Linked DNA regions of Homo sapiens: regions 1, 2 and 4 are each linked to region 3. Evidence: promoter capture Hi-C in 16 types of primary human blood cells and fetal thymus (Javierre and others, 2016). All regions are on one chromosome and are shown on one strand. Each heading gives the region's core, a stretch centred on a gene start or on the middle of the fragment in contact. The rest is flanking DNA. Distances are from core to core; before and after follow the strand shown.

Region 1 (3,202 bases), core at 287-2,786, 540 kb after region 3:
CTGCATCGGAGGCGTTAACGCATGTGATTGGTGGAATATAAGACCTGGACCAAAAATTGGTTTTAGACTGTGGAGGATTTTGAAAATCAAATTAACATATTTGAGCTTTATTCTGCATATAGTGAGGATGTGAGATTTGGGGGAGGTTTTGTAGTTGTTATTTGTTTGTTTTTTAGCAGAACACTGTTTTGATGAAAGTGATGTTTTGGGAACATTAATCTTACATTGGTATGTGGGATAGGTTTGAGATAGGAGGAAGTAGTGGCAGGAATGGCAAACACACCTGCCCAGCTTGGTCAGAGAATGAGATTATTTTTATAGAATATTAAGATAAATGTGAACTAATACTTCTTTAAAAATACTAGACAAGGAAGTCACATTCAGAAAGTACTTCAGAATCTGTGGTATCTTTAGGCTTATCGTTGTAAGTATCACTTGTCATTGAACTGTTGATTTACAGAAGAACAGGTTAATAGAGAATTCTACTTACTAGGAAATTGGATAAACTGTTCTATATTTTATTTGAGTGTAGGTCCACCATTGTTCATAATCATGTAAAATTTTAGATTACATGTAGCTTATTAATTCAGTTTATCTTCTTCCTCTGTGCTGGAAGGAACTTTTTACAACTTCATCTCTGAGCTCACTTTTTTTTTAAACAAGCTCTGGAACTCAGCACTTCTCTCTGAATAATTTGGCAACATTGTCTTCTATTCTTCTGAACCATGTGAGATAGAGCCTAGTGGGATAAGTATATCTACAAATGACAGAAACAGGCTGAACAGAAGATAGATACACATATTTGAAACCTTCAGAGTTCTTTAGAATACTTTTTGTTTTTTCTTGTTACAGAGTCTCACTCTGTCACCCAGGCTGGAGTGCAGTGGCGTGAAGTCGGCTCACTGCAACCTCTGCCTCCCAGGTTCAAGCGATTTTCGTGCCTCAGCCTCCGGAGTAGCTGGAATTACAGGTGTGTGCTGCCACGCCTGGCCAATTTTTGCATTTTTAGTAGAGATGGGGTTTCACCATGTTGGCCAGGCTGGTCTCGAACTCCTGGCCTCAAGTGATCCTCCTACCTCAGCCTACCAAAGTGCTGGGATTACAGGCATGAGCCAACGCGCCCAGCCTAGAATACATTTTCTAACTTTGGATATTCCTGGACACACATTTGTGTGGCTAGTGCATGTGGTTAAGAAAAAGGGACTGTTCAGGAAAGATACTTGGGAGTGGGGAGAATTATCTACTGGGATGTACTTAGCATCATATCTTATTAAAATTCTTCTGGAAGGGCTTTTTTGTTACTTAGAATCTTATTTTAACATTAAGCTGATTTGATTTGGTTTGGACATTTCTATATTTTTTCCCTTTAGAAGTGATTTTTAAATAGCTATCACAAAGGTTGAGACTAATAAAAATTGCTTCCACTCTAACTCACCTTCAATTAATATGCAAAGAATATGTAACTGACAACATTGCAACCACAATTAGAGGACAGATATTCTCAAATGATGAAAATCCAGCATTTAGAATGAAGTTAATTTTTCCCAAACTTCCCTACCTGTAACATTCAAGGCATGGGTTTGCTTTTGCTTAGAAGAGTGGAGGAGGCTGGGCACAGTGGCTCATGCCTGTAATGCCAGCATTTTGGCAGGCTGAGGCGGGAGGATTGCTTGAGCTATGTGTGGTGGCATGCGCCTTTAGTCCTAGCTACTTGAGAGGCTGAGGTGGGAGGATCCCTGGAGCCTGGGAGGTTGAGGCTGCAGTAAGCTGGCATAGTGCCACTGCACTCCAGCCTGGTCAACAGAATGAGACTCTGCCTCTAAAAAAAGAAAAAAAAGAGCAGAGGCGGTTGTAATATAAACAAAATGTGGAGCTCTTTTCATGGTATTCACAGCAAGTTCAGGAATAGTCTCCTTGCAATGCAAGGAGTATTCATCTTTGTAAACTGCAGCCTGAATTAAGGGAAAAATCTCAGCTTGTTCCTTTCTCTGAATCATTATTATAAGGAAAAGGAGTTTAAGCTCCTAATGAAGTATCAAATCCCCTTTCATTGTACAATTTTGGATGATTGACTAAGGACTGGTTTTCTTTGCAAAGATCCCTAGGCCAGCATTCCCAAACTGTTAAGTAGGTGGACTGTGGAAAATGTGTTCTGTACTTAAATACTATTTGGAAAAACAGTTAAACATCGTTCTTTTCTGCAACACTTCTCAAACTAATATGCTTATAATGTATCTTCTGACTGTCCACAGAATTTCCCAAACACATTTGAGCACATATTGTCCCATCTCTTCCCACTCCTGACCTCACCAGCCCCTAGCATACGTATCACTCACAGGGTAAATGTGAAGTTTTAGGAAATGTTGCCGTCAGTACACAAACTTGCTAGATAAAATGGACCCAACTGGGATAGTCTTGAAAAATGTTTAACTTACTGAGACAGATGTGAAAGCCCATTGCCCTTCTAGTTCTGGGATGATTGATCATGATCACAGAGAGCTTGATTGAGAAAAAAGGAGAAGCCAAGTTTTAGTGGAATTTATTTAGAATGCACTAGAAGAGTAAAAACAGTTAACATTCATTACTAGGGCATAGTAGGGTGCCTTGAGAGGAGTCGTTTAAAAAAGTCTGAAGATTATGAACCCTGATTAGTGAATTAGCAAATATTTCATACGGTTAGTTCTTAGGATTAGATTTCAACACTTCAGTGCAAATTCTTCACACTTTTGTCATGTGAATGCAGTTTGAGAATGCATTTCAATTAGATCTGTAAGTTGTTGAATTATCTTTTATTCTTGAACTGGTGGAATAGACATGGTGCTTGCTTCAATTATCCGTTAACTCCAGTATTTCTCTAAATATTTGCTGTCCAATATTTTCTAATAAATTCCTTTAGGTGAATATGCAAAGATCACAAAAATGAATAGTCATTTATGAATTCCCTGTGAAGACAAAAGGATTCTTTGAGACAACAAAGCGATTTTTCGAGACAACAAAGTTTTGTTTCTCTGGAACCTAAATAAGCAGGATGCTTACAGTTTCTCGACATATTACATACTTTTTTCTTGAGAAAAATGTAAAAGATAAATAGGTGGGCATTTTTTATGAAATTATTAATATGGAAAACAAACATTAAAGGCATTTCATTAAGTAAGGGTAGATTTAGTCCAACTTCATAGACTTTCTAATAACTCTATACAAC
Region 2 (3,164 bases), core at 640-3,139, 740 kb after region 3:
TGTATCAGTTAAGAAGGCAATTTTGATAGAAAAAAATAATCTTCCTAATGATTTCAGTAAAACACACCCTACTATTCTGAAGCATTATAAATTCTCAGCTCAGACAAACCCACATTTAAATGTAAGAACAAGAAACCTTCCTTATTTGGGAATTCAGGATCCTCGATTTCTAATTTCTCGCTTCCTCCTGCTGCTCTATCCTCAATCACATAGGCTGCTTATAGATAGCTCCTCTTAGAGAGAGAGAAACAAGTGTTAAGACAAGTGCTTAAAGACTAAATCTCAATACCTATGTTTATAGGTAGGTTTGCCTGTTTGTGGGAATCTCGAACATCTATCTCTCTACTAACAAAATAGAGCATGTTATACAAAATTCTAGTTCAAAATCAAATAAAGATGACTTAGAAATGCATACCATTAGTGGCTAATGCTTATTTTAAAGCTATTTTCCAGGACCTATCTTTTTTCATTTATGGTTCTAAGACACCTCACCTGTACTTCCAAATTAATTGTTCACCTGCAGTCAGCCTACATGTTCCCTATCACATTTAACCAGTTCTTTCAAGACAGTCTTTGTCAATCCATATTAGTGAAACTGTGGTTCTTTATACCAGCATTCAGGAGTGTATCCCTAAAGGACAAATGGCTGTCAGTGATAAAATTAACCCCCAGTAAGAACACATTTCATCAAACTACTTAAAATCCTTTCATGTTCTCCAAGATACCAGTTGGGGAGAATTACATGTAATCTTAATTTATTCTGACAATAGGCAACACTTTATCTAGTGTAAAAACAAGAAACTCAGTAAACTACCCATACAGATCATTTTACATATTCTGACATTTAAAACTAGGCACAAAGAAATGCATGTTAATTTACCTTACTGGTAAACAGAGTACTTAAATTCTTTTAGATATATGCTTTAGGTGATGGGTGTTCACAATGCAAAAATCCTCTTTGCTCTACTAAAAAATTTCCCAAAGGATTAATTCACAGGGTGAAAATAGTGGTGGATCTGAAAAAATTAGCTACAAGTTAAAGTTCTTGTGGAGCTAGCAATCACTCCAACCCACACTAAGGATGAAGATGGAGAGAGCCCTGATCATCTATTGCATAGGCGTAATAAATTTAAAAAATGTATCTGACAATACTTTATAAATTATAAATGACTAATGTTAGTGGTACTACACAGGTACATTTACATTACCGTTCACAGAGAGCTACATAACAGAGGTGTCTGGGTTAGTTCTGGTTAATTTTTTTAAAATTAGAATTTGAGGAAAAATTGATTGAAAATTCCAGATAATAAAGCTTTACTGAATTATATTACTTAAAAGTAGTCTAACAACCAGAATGGACAAATTTCCACCTACTGCATAAAGAAACACCTGTATATAAAACACATGTGCAGTCCAGATATAAGTCAAGAACTCACATCTTGATTTTTTGGTATTTATTATTAATTCAAAAATATAACCTTCACCTATGTTGAACACTATTGTTTGACTTCTTCAAGAACTGCATGTCACCTTAATAAGACACTTCATTTCTAGTTTAGGAGAGAAACCATGCCTTTGCCAACTGCCGAATTTTGATTTCATTAACCTTTACTCTCTCATACTGAAGCTGTTGGCATTTTATACAAAATGGGTGATTTTGTATAAAATGGAGGGAGAATAATCTGCTTATAATGGGAAACTAATCACATTTTTAAAAATAATACTTAAAAGATAAGGGAAATATTTTATATTATGTAAAAGGGAAAAGAATGCCAGCAGATATCAAGAACATCCTCATCACATATACTGCAGGTTCCATTAAACATTGTTAAGAACTCTTAAATGCTTTAAACATGTGTCTTCAAACCATGACCTTATTTTAAGGGCCAAATTTTTAATCACTTCTCGGCAACTGTGGGAAATAATGATTCCTACTTTCTCTCTTTTTTTTGAGATAGGGTCTTATTTTGTCACCCAGGCTGAAGTGCAGTGGCATAATCACAGATAAATGTAGTCTCGACCTCCCAGGCTCAAGTGATCCTCCAACCTCCCCCCATCAGCTTCCCAAGTAGCTGGGACTACAGGCATACTCCACCATGCCTGGCTAATTTTTTTTTTTTTTCCCAGTAGAGATGAGGTCTCACCATGTTGCCCAGGCTGGTCTTAAACTCCTGGGCTCGAGTGATCCACCCTCCTTGGCCTCCCAAAGTGCTGGGATTAGAGGCGTGAGCCATCATGCCTGGCCAATAAATCCCATTTACTTAACCTGTGTGTGTTTGTATGTGTTGGAGATTATCTTGTCTGTAGGAAATCATAATTGTCACTACTACAATGTGTGTCAAGACTTCTCTGTCCTTTACCTTCCTAAAGTATGCAAACTCAGATATATTAAAAGCTATCAATAAGTATATATTGTTTTTGCCCACAATATGGGTAAAATAAATAACTTCCTAACTGAATAGATGATAAGCTTTAGCATACTGGCTCTATATACATTTCATCAGTTCAAATGTCTTTGATTAATTTTAGATTGTTGGATCTAACAGTTATGGTTTAAATTAACAAAAATTTCAGCCTTCCTTAATGTCAATTATTGTGTCATTGTTCAATATTCTATTTCTATATAATCATCATTATTTTATAAATCAACAGGTTTACCATCTATGAATTCCTTGAAACTAAATATAATCATAGTGGACATGATTAATTTCAATTTGTTCTAGTGTCCCTAAGGGCAGGCAATTAGGCTATGGGCCATGAAGGCTACCACAGGTTCACCCTGAAACATTTTGCCCTAAGTAAAGAGGATTCTGACATACCCAAAGACTTTTTACTTAATCACTTTAAAGTCCTTACATAGCTTTTGTTTAAATAACCACAGAACCAAAATTTTAGAGCTTGAAAAGACTGAAACTAACTTTGATCTATGTGGCCAAAATAAATATACTAGACTACGACACACTTTAATTTTTCAAAACACCAGTTTCTTACAGACCAGTGTTTTTAAGAATGTGTTCAATGCCTAAAATATTAAGGTGAAAGTAAATAAATGAGTCCTTTTTTGGTGCTTGATATTCCTTCTGAATCATATTTCAGTGAACCTTGGGTACAAATCTCAGAAAGCACAGAAATTTTGAAAGATACAGAAATCTAGAAAGATGATC
Region 3 (2,877 bases), core at 68-2,567:
TTAAAAATGTTAGGAAACTGAGGTGCAAGGATTGCTGGAGGCCAGGAGTTCGAAACCAGCCTGGGCAACATAGTGAGACACCCATCTCTACAAAAAAATTTAAGAATAAGCCCCACATGGTGGTGTGCTCCGCTTGTAGTTCTAGTTACTGAACTCCCACCTCGGCAACAGAGCGAGACCGTCTTAAAAAAAGTATGTGGAAGAAAAAACATGCACAGTAGATTTAGTGTTATTGTGATAACCCTAGCACTTCAGTGGAAAAAATATAAACAATTTCAATGAGTAGACAATAACACATATAACCAAGATTTCAAATATACCTTCTAGCCCTTTTGAGAAGTCAAAATTGAACAACCTGAATGTACCAGCTTTTTTGAAAAAAGTTTTGTAGACACGCGATCCCCAAAACCTGCCGTTCAAACAACTCCAAGGGTCTTTAAAGTACTAAATCCCTTTGTATTTGTCCTATCGGTCCCTTTGGTTTCCAGGAAAGCATTAAAAATAAAAATAAAAACTCTCTGCCTTAATTTTATTTCACGACTTTCTTTTCTCTTATTATAGCTTTCCACATTGCTTTAGAAGAGTTTACATCTAACTCTAGTGGTCTTCGGCTTCTTCTCCCTCTTTGACACAGAGGACTAGTTTCAATTGTACAAATAGGCTGGACGCTTCAGCGATTATCTTCCGACCACTCCCTGTGTGCTCGCGCGGGCGGAGTAGGGGGCGCTTCTCCACTCTCCGCGACCTCAATGTATGCGGAAATCCTCCTGCCTTTGTGCACACGTTTATTTAGAAAATTCTCTCCACCCCCACTCCCGTCCGTCCCGCCCCTTCTTCTTTTGCTTATTCTCTGAGTTTTGCCTCTCCTCCCACCCCGACTCCACCGTAATCTTAACCTACCCGTACAGATTCCACTTTCCCACTTCGGAGCTAGAGTAATTTAAGATCCCCCCATTATTAGCTCCACGTCGCCTTTAAAAGCCATTCAAACGAGTTCGCCTTCCAGGGTTCTGCAGTTGTGCTGCAGCAGCATTTCCCTCCTCTCCAGTATCAGACGTTAAAACAAAGCAAGCCACAGTGTGTGTCCACAGACGACCTTGGAACGAAAAGCTGCCCTGTTTGGGATCAATGCTCAGGGAACCCAGTCCACTCCCGCACTCACGTGTTCCCGCCTTGCCCTCCAGCTAGTTCCCCCGCGCGCAGGATCGCACTACTCCCTCTGCAGTCTCGCCTGCCGACTTCCTTCTGCGCGCCTCGTAAAACCGGGGAAGTTCAATCATTCCGCAGCGAGCCGCGGCGGCCGCACTGGGCATGCTCAGTCTCCGGGCTCCGCTCGGCAGGCGAGAGGCGTCCTCCGGCTCTGGGCTCCGGTCGGTGGGTGCCTCGGCTCGGCTTTCCCCGGCGCTGGCTGGGCTCAGCGGCCCCTGAGCCCAAGCGACACACGCCCCGCGGTCCCCGATCCGGCCCCTGGGAGAGCCGCGCCGTTCTGGAACCCGGGAGCCCCCAACTTCGCGCCAAGTTCGGAGCCGCCTTCTGAGGGAGACATGAAAAAGATGAGCAGGAATGTTTTGCTACAAATGGAGGAGGAGGAGGACGACGACGATGGGGATATCGGTGAGCGAGGGGTCCCCGCGTCCCCACCCGAGAGCCCGAGCCGACGCGGGAAGAAGTTCGGGGACTGCGCGGGGGCGCTGTGCTCTCCGCGGGGGAGGTTGGCCGAGACGCTCGGCCGCTCCGGGCAGGGGAGGAAGCCCGCTGTCCCCGGCTGCTTGCAGACTGAGGCCCCGGTGCGGCCCCTGCGGGGCTGAGGCGCGGGGCGCGTGGTGGCCCCGAGGACAGGCTCCTGACGGGCGGGGGATGCTGCCCCTGAAAAGCCTGGCAGCTGCGGGGACGCCTCTGCGTGCGGAAGTCTCCACTCAGAAGCAACTTTGGGGTCACTTCCCCGACTCGCAGAGTGCTAGGGTTGCCCAGGAGCCTCGGCACTGGGGCGAGCCCCCTGGGCGGGGTCCGGGGAGCAGGCCCGCATTTGGAGGACAGGGTGTGACCCATCTGAATCCTCGTTAAAGTAAAAGCCGACCGACGGCTCTGGGAGGTTTGAGGCCTGGCGGGGCGGCCCCGGGAAGTGATTTGTGGCCGCTAGGCGCGCGCTGGAAACCCTTTCCCATCTGCGGAGCCCACCGGAGCTGTGATCGGAGGAGGAATTCCCCCAGGCAGGGAGGACCGCAGGGCCTTTTTCACTCGTCCTGAGGGGCCCTGGGGCTTGGGGAGCAAACCTGGGGTGACCCATTTCTAGTTAGAGTTAAAAATGCATGGAAGTGACAAGACGAACGGAGGGAGAGCTGTTTTAAGAGCAAAAAAAGAAAAAAAGGGCAAACAAAAGGGATGAGAGGAGGTGAGGAAGGGGAAAGGAATGAGAGGACTAGAGAGAAAATCAGGTCCCTAAAGAGAACACTGTCGGGGGATGATGATATAATGTGTCCCTCCAGAAGACTCTAATTAAATTACCAAGCCAGTCTGTTGTGGCGACTCGGCTTAGTCTCCTGGATGCCAAATCAATTTTAAAGCAGAACATCCTGCTGATGTTCTAAAGCCCTGTTGTTATCTAATAACTTTAAAAGTAACTTAATTTTAGGAGTTGGGTGTGGTTTTTATTTCTGTTACATTTTGGGCACGGAATATTTCGATCAAAAAAATTTGGTAACTTCTTGGTTGTCCAGGGACAAATCGAATAGAGGAGATTACACTCCATGATTTAGTTTCACATTTCATTCATTCATTTAAGAACAATTTACTAGTTATTCATCTTTAAGGAGAGAGCAAATAGTAGTAGTTTTTATAGGAGAGAAAACTGAAGCGCACAGGTTGGTCTGCCCAGCT
Region 4 (3,124 bases), core at 351-2,850, 770 kb after region 3:
CATCCACTGAGCCCATCTCCACAATTATCATCCTAATTCAAGCTATCCTCATCTCTCCCAGACTACTAAAAAAGCCTGCTAACTAATTCTCCCAGATCTCTTGCTGCCTCTCTCCTCCCTTTCAATACACATCACCACAATCCTAGTTTTGCCTTCTGGAACTATAAGAAATTAATATGGCTTCTAAATGACAACATTTTTAACAATAAGATAGTTATACTGCTTGATATGGTTTGGCTGTGTCCCCACCCAAATCTCTCTTGAATTGTATTCCCATAATTCCCACGTGTTGTGGGAGCAACCTGTTGGGAGATAATTTGAATCATGGGGGCAGTTTCCCCCATACTGTTCTCATGGTAGTGAACAAGTCTCACAAGATCTGATGGTTTTAACAGATGTTTCCGCTTTTGCATCTTCCTCATTTTCTCTTGCCACCAACCACTATGTAAGAAGTGCCCTTCTCCTCCCACCAAGATTCTGAGGCCTCCCTAGCCATGTGGAACTGTAAGTCCAATTATACCTCTTTTTCTTCCCAGTCTCAGGTATGTCAGCAGCATGAAATCAGGCTAATGCACTGCTCTACTCTTAGCTGAGGCATTCTTAGCTCCTTCTATATTAAGACAAATGATAGTTTCAAGGTCACATACTGTTATACTCCTCTAAAAACACAGACCCCTTAGGCTGGGTGTGGTGGTTCATTCCTGTAATCCCAGCACTTTGGGAGGCCAAGGCGGGATGATTACTTAGCCCAGGAATTTGAGACCAGCCTGGGCACCAAAGTGAGAGCTGTGATCACACCACTGCGCTCCAGCCTGGGAGACAGCGAGATGCTATCTGAAAGCAAAAACAAAACAAACAACAACAAAAAACAAGGACCCCTGAAATGAACATGGCCCACATGCATGGATATAAGTAACTTGGCAGTTTATGCTACAGACTGAGACTTGCTTAGTCTAAAGTTTCAAACCACAATCACTATTTGTAACGTTTACAGCTGAAAGCAGGTTAATTCATTAACTTACACTGAAGGCATTGTTCAGGTGTTTAGGTGACAAATACTGACAAATGCTGATCTCACAGAAGATAAATCACAGTGAAGAAAATAAACAATAAACCTAAGTTAGATTACACAATATGTTGCAAAATGATAAATGCAATGGAGAAAAATCTAGCATAAAAACAGATACAAAATATCGGGGGAAGGCTGTTGTTTTATACACAGTAGTTAGAGAAGACCACAACAGCGTAGGGGAAAGGAGATTGGAGAAAGGGTGAGGAGATGAAGTCAGAGAGGAAGAAGAGACTTAAATCATAGAGCCTTGTAGACCATAGGAGTATGGAATTTACTATGACTGAGAAGGGAAGCCATTTGAGAAAAGAAGTTACATGACCTGACATTTTATCAGGATCACTCTGGCTATGGAGTGTTAAAGACTGTAGATCAGCAAAGGTCACAGTGACTTTTTAGGAAGATATTTTTGAAAGCAAAATAGTGGTTGTGTTTTTACGTTATGTATTGAATTTTTATGTGTCTATGTACTAGGATTTCATACATTAAGTTCATAGACACAACTTAAAAAAATACAATGCAAAGATGAGTTTTGGGAATAGCAAGAGAATGATACTGGATATTTTAACTCTGGGCTCTACTCAGCACTACTAACAGTTATTACTGCTCAGAAGCAAGACAAGGTGCAAGGTTATTAACTTATTTTGGGGGACAGAGTATAATTAAAAATCTGGATTTTAAGTTTATTTCACTGGGCAAGGTAAGTCAAGGTACAATTTACATCTTAAAAGACAAAAGCAGGTGATAGCAGGGCTTGCTAAAGGGAAGTTACAATGAAAATTATTCTACAGTTGACTTTCTTTTTATTACTTTTATGCCTGCTACTCTCTTTAATTAAGGTGCTACAACTATCTCTGATATACTTTAAAAGTTCAGTATTAAGTTGATGGGTAGTATAGTACTGTATTTTCTGATTACTAAAAGATGTTACTGATGATGAATCAACAGTATCATGTAACTGCACTGATTCATCCTATCTCTGCTGAATAAAAGCACAGGTTTTCCAGAAAACTGTCTAAGCTCTAGTTGGTGCCAAAGGACGATAGAGAGCTAAGTAACTCCTGAAAAGTTTCGATCTTAACACACTAGCCCTATTACCACATGAAGGTATTAACAGAAAAAATTAAAAAATTATCCGTAAAATTTTCTCCATGACATGTTTTCTGGCAACATATTTAGAAACTTTAAATTTTCTTCTACAGTTTTCTTCCCCTTTATACTGAAGAATGTCTTTAAAGCATGAGTATACTTACAGTAAGCAAACATTCAAATTTTACCCCAGTGAAATCTTAAAATGTACTCAAACTCTCAGGCAAAAAGTTCACTATCTGAATGTGAAAAACTGAATGACTGTTAAAATATCTGCAAGCACCAAAAAATATTATAGCTAAAATGCAGCTACCCTAAGAACTGTTTTTAAAAAACTCACATTGCATAAAAAATATAAATTCAGATTATCCGATAGGATAATATAAAACAAAAGAAATCCAAAGACAGTTTCAAGATTTCATTTCTCTTGCTTAGTTAAAACAACAAAAACAAAAGGCCCATGAACTTTTTCTTGCATCTTTTAACCAAAATAGTGACATGATCAAGCCAACTGCCAAAGAAACAGGAAAGAGAAAGCAATTGTTTAGAAACAGACTTGATTACATGTCAAAATTTTAATACAATTACTAATAAAATACAAAAACCAACCGTTATTTTAAAATGTACTGCCCTGATATTCTGCTGCTGAGGTAGGTGGTGATATGTAGAAATTAATTTTTCTTTTAAAACGAAAAAATAATGCATTTATTAATATGCTTTTCCCAAAATTCGGGGAAAATTCCCAAATCGGAGAAAAAAATTTAACATCAGCATCTACTACACAAAGCATTAAAAACATTTTTCAGCAGTTTTGCTTAAGTATCTTAGGTCAGTGGTAGCATGTTAGCCAAAATGTAATCCAAAATGAATGAACAACAGTCAGCTGGTAGACACTGTATGTAATACAATACGGAAATATATTGGAAGTATTTCAAAATTCAACATTTGAATCCGTGAATGTCTAAA

Evidence for each region. Contacts are between HindIII fragments. The CHiCAGO score rates a contact against its expected background, and 5 or more counts as called.
Region 1: a fragment that was not itself captured here is called in contact with the fragment with the promoter of ANO6 in region 3 in 1 of 17 cell types (fetal thymus); the score reaches 5.4 in fetal thymus.
Region 2: a contact is called between a fragment that was not itself captured here and the fragment with the promoter of ANO6 in region 3, in 1 of 17 cell types (fetal thymus). The highest score is 5.0, in fetal thymus.
Region 4: a fragment that was not itself captured here is called in contact with the fragment with the promoter of ANO6 in region 3 in 1 of 17 cell types (fetal thymus); the score reaches 8.4 in fetal thymus.

The regions. Positions count from the first base shown.
Region 1 is chr12:45,755,079-45,758,280 of GRCh38, forward strand. The region is part of intron 3 of ARID2 (AT-rich interaction domain 2); the gene reads left to right. Among named protein-coding and RNA genes, the nearest start is that of ARID2, 27 kb to the left of the region's middle. The HindIII fragment of the contact is 3,333 bases long and covers 1-3,202 here.
Region 2 is chr12:45,955,960-45,959,123 of GRCh38, forward strand. All of the region lies in intron 3 of SCAF11 (SR-related CTD associated factor 11), which reads right to left. Among named protein-coding and RNA genes, the nearest start is that of SCAF11, 33 kb to the right of the region's middle. The HindIII fragment of the contact is 1,158 bases long and covers 1,311-2,468 here.
Region 3 is chr12:45,214,778-45,217,654 of GRCh38, forward strand. It overlaps ANO6 (anoctamin 6), which reads left to right and starts at 1,318. Exons shown (of 20, transcript NM_001025356.3): 1 at 1,318-1,614. The coding sequence starts at 1,545. It also overlaps the pseudogene PLEKHA8P1. RefSeq lists enhancers at 1,084-1,183, 2,194-2,323 and a silencer at 1,644-1,953. The HindIII fragment of the contact is 6,776 bases long and covers 1-2,877 here.
Region 4 is chr12:45,986,400-45,989,523 of GRCh38, forward strand. The region is part of intron 1 of SCAF11 (SR-related CTD associated factor 11); the gene reads right to left. Among named protein-coding and RNA genes, the nearest start is that of SCAF11, 2.6 kb to the right of the region's middle. RefSeq lists a silencer at 304-353. The HindIII fragment of the contact is 7,512 bases long and covers 1-3,124 here.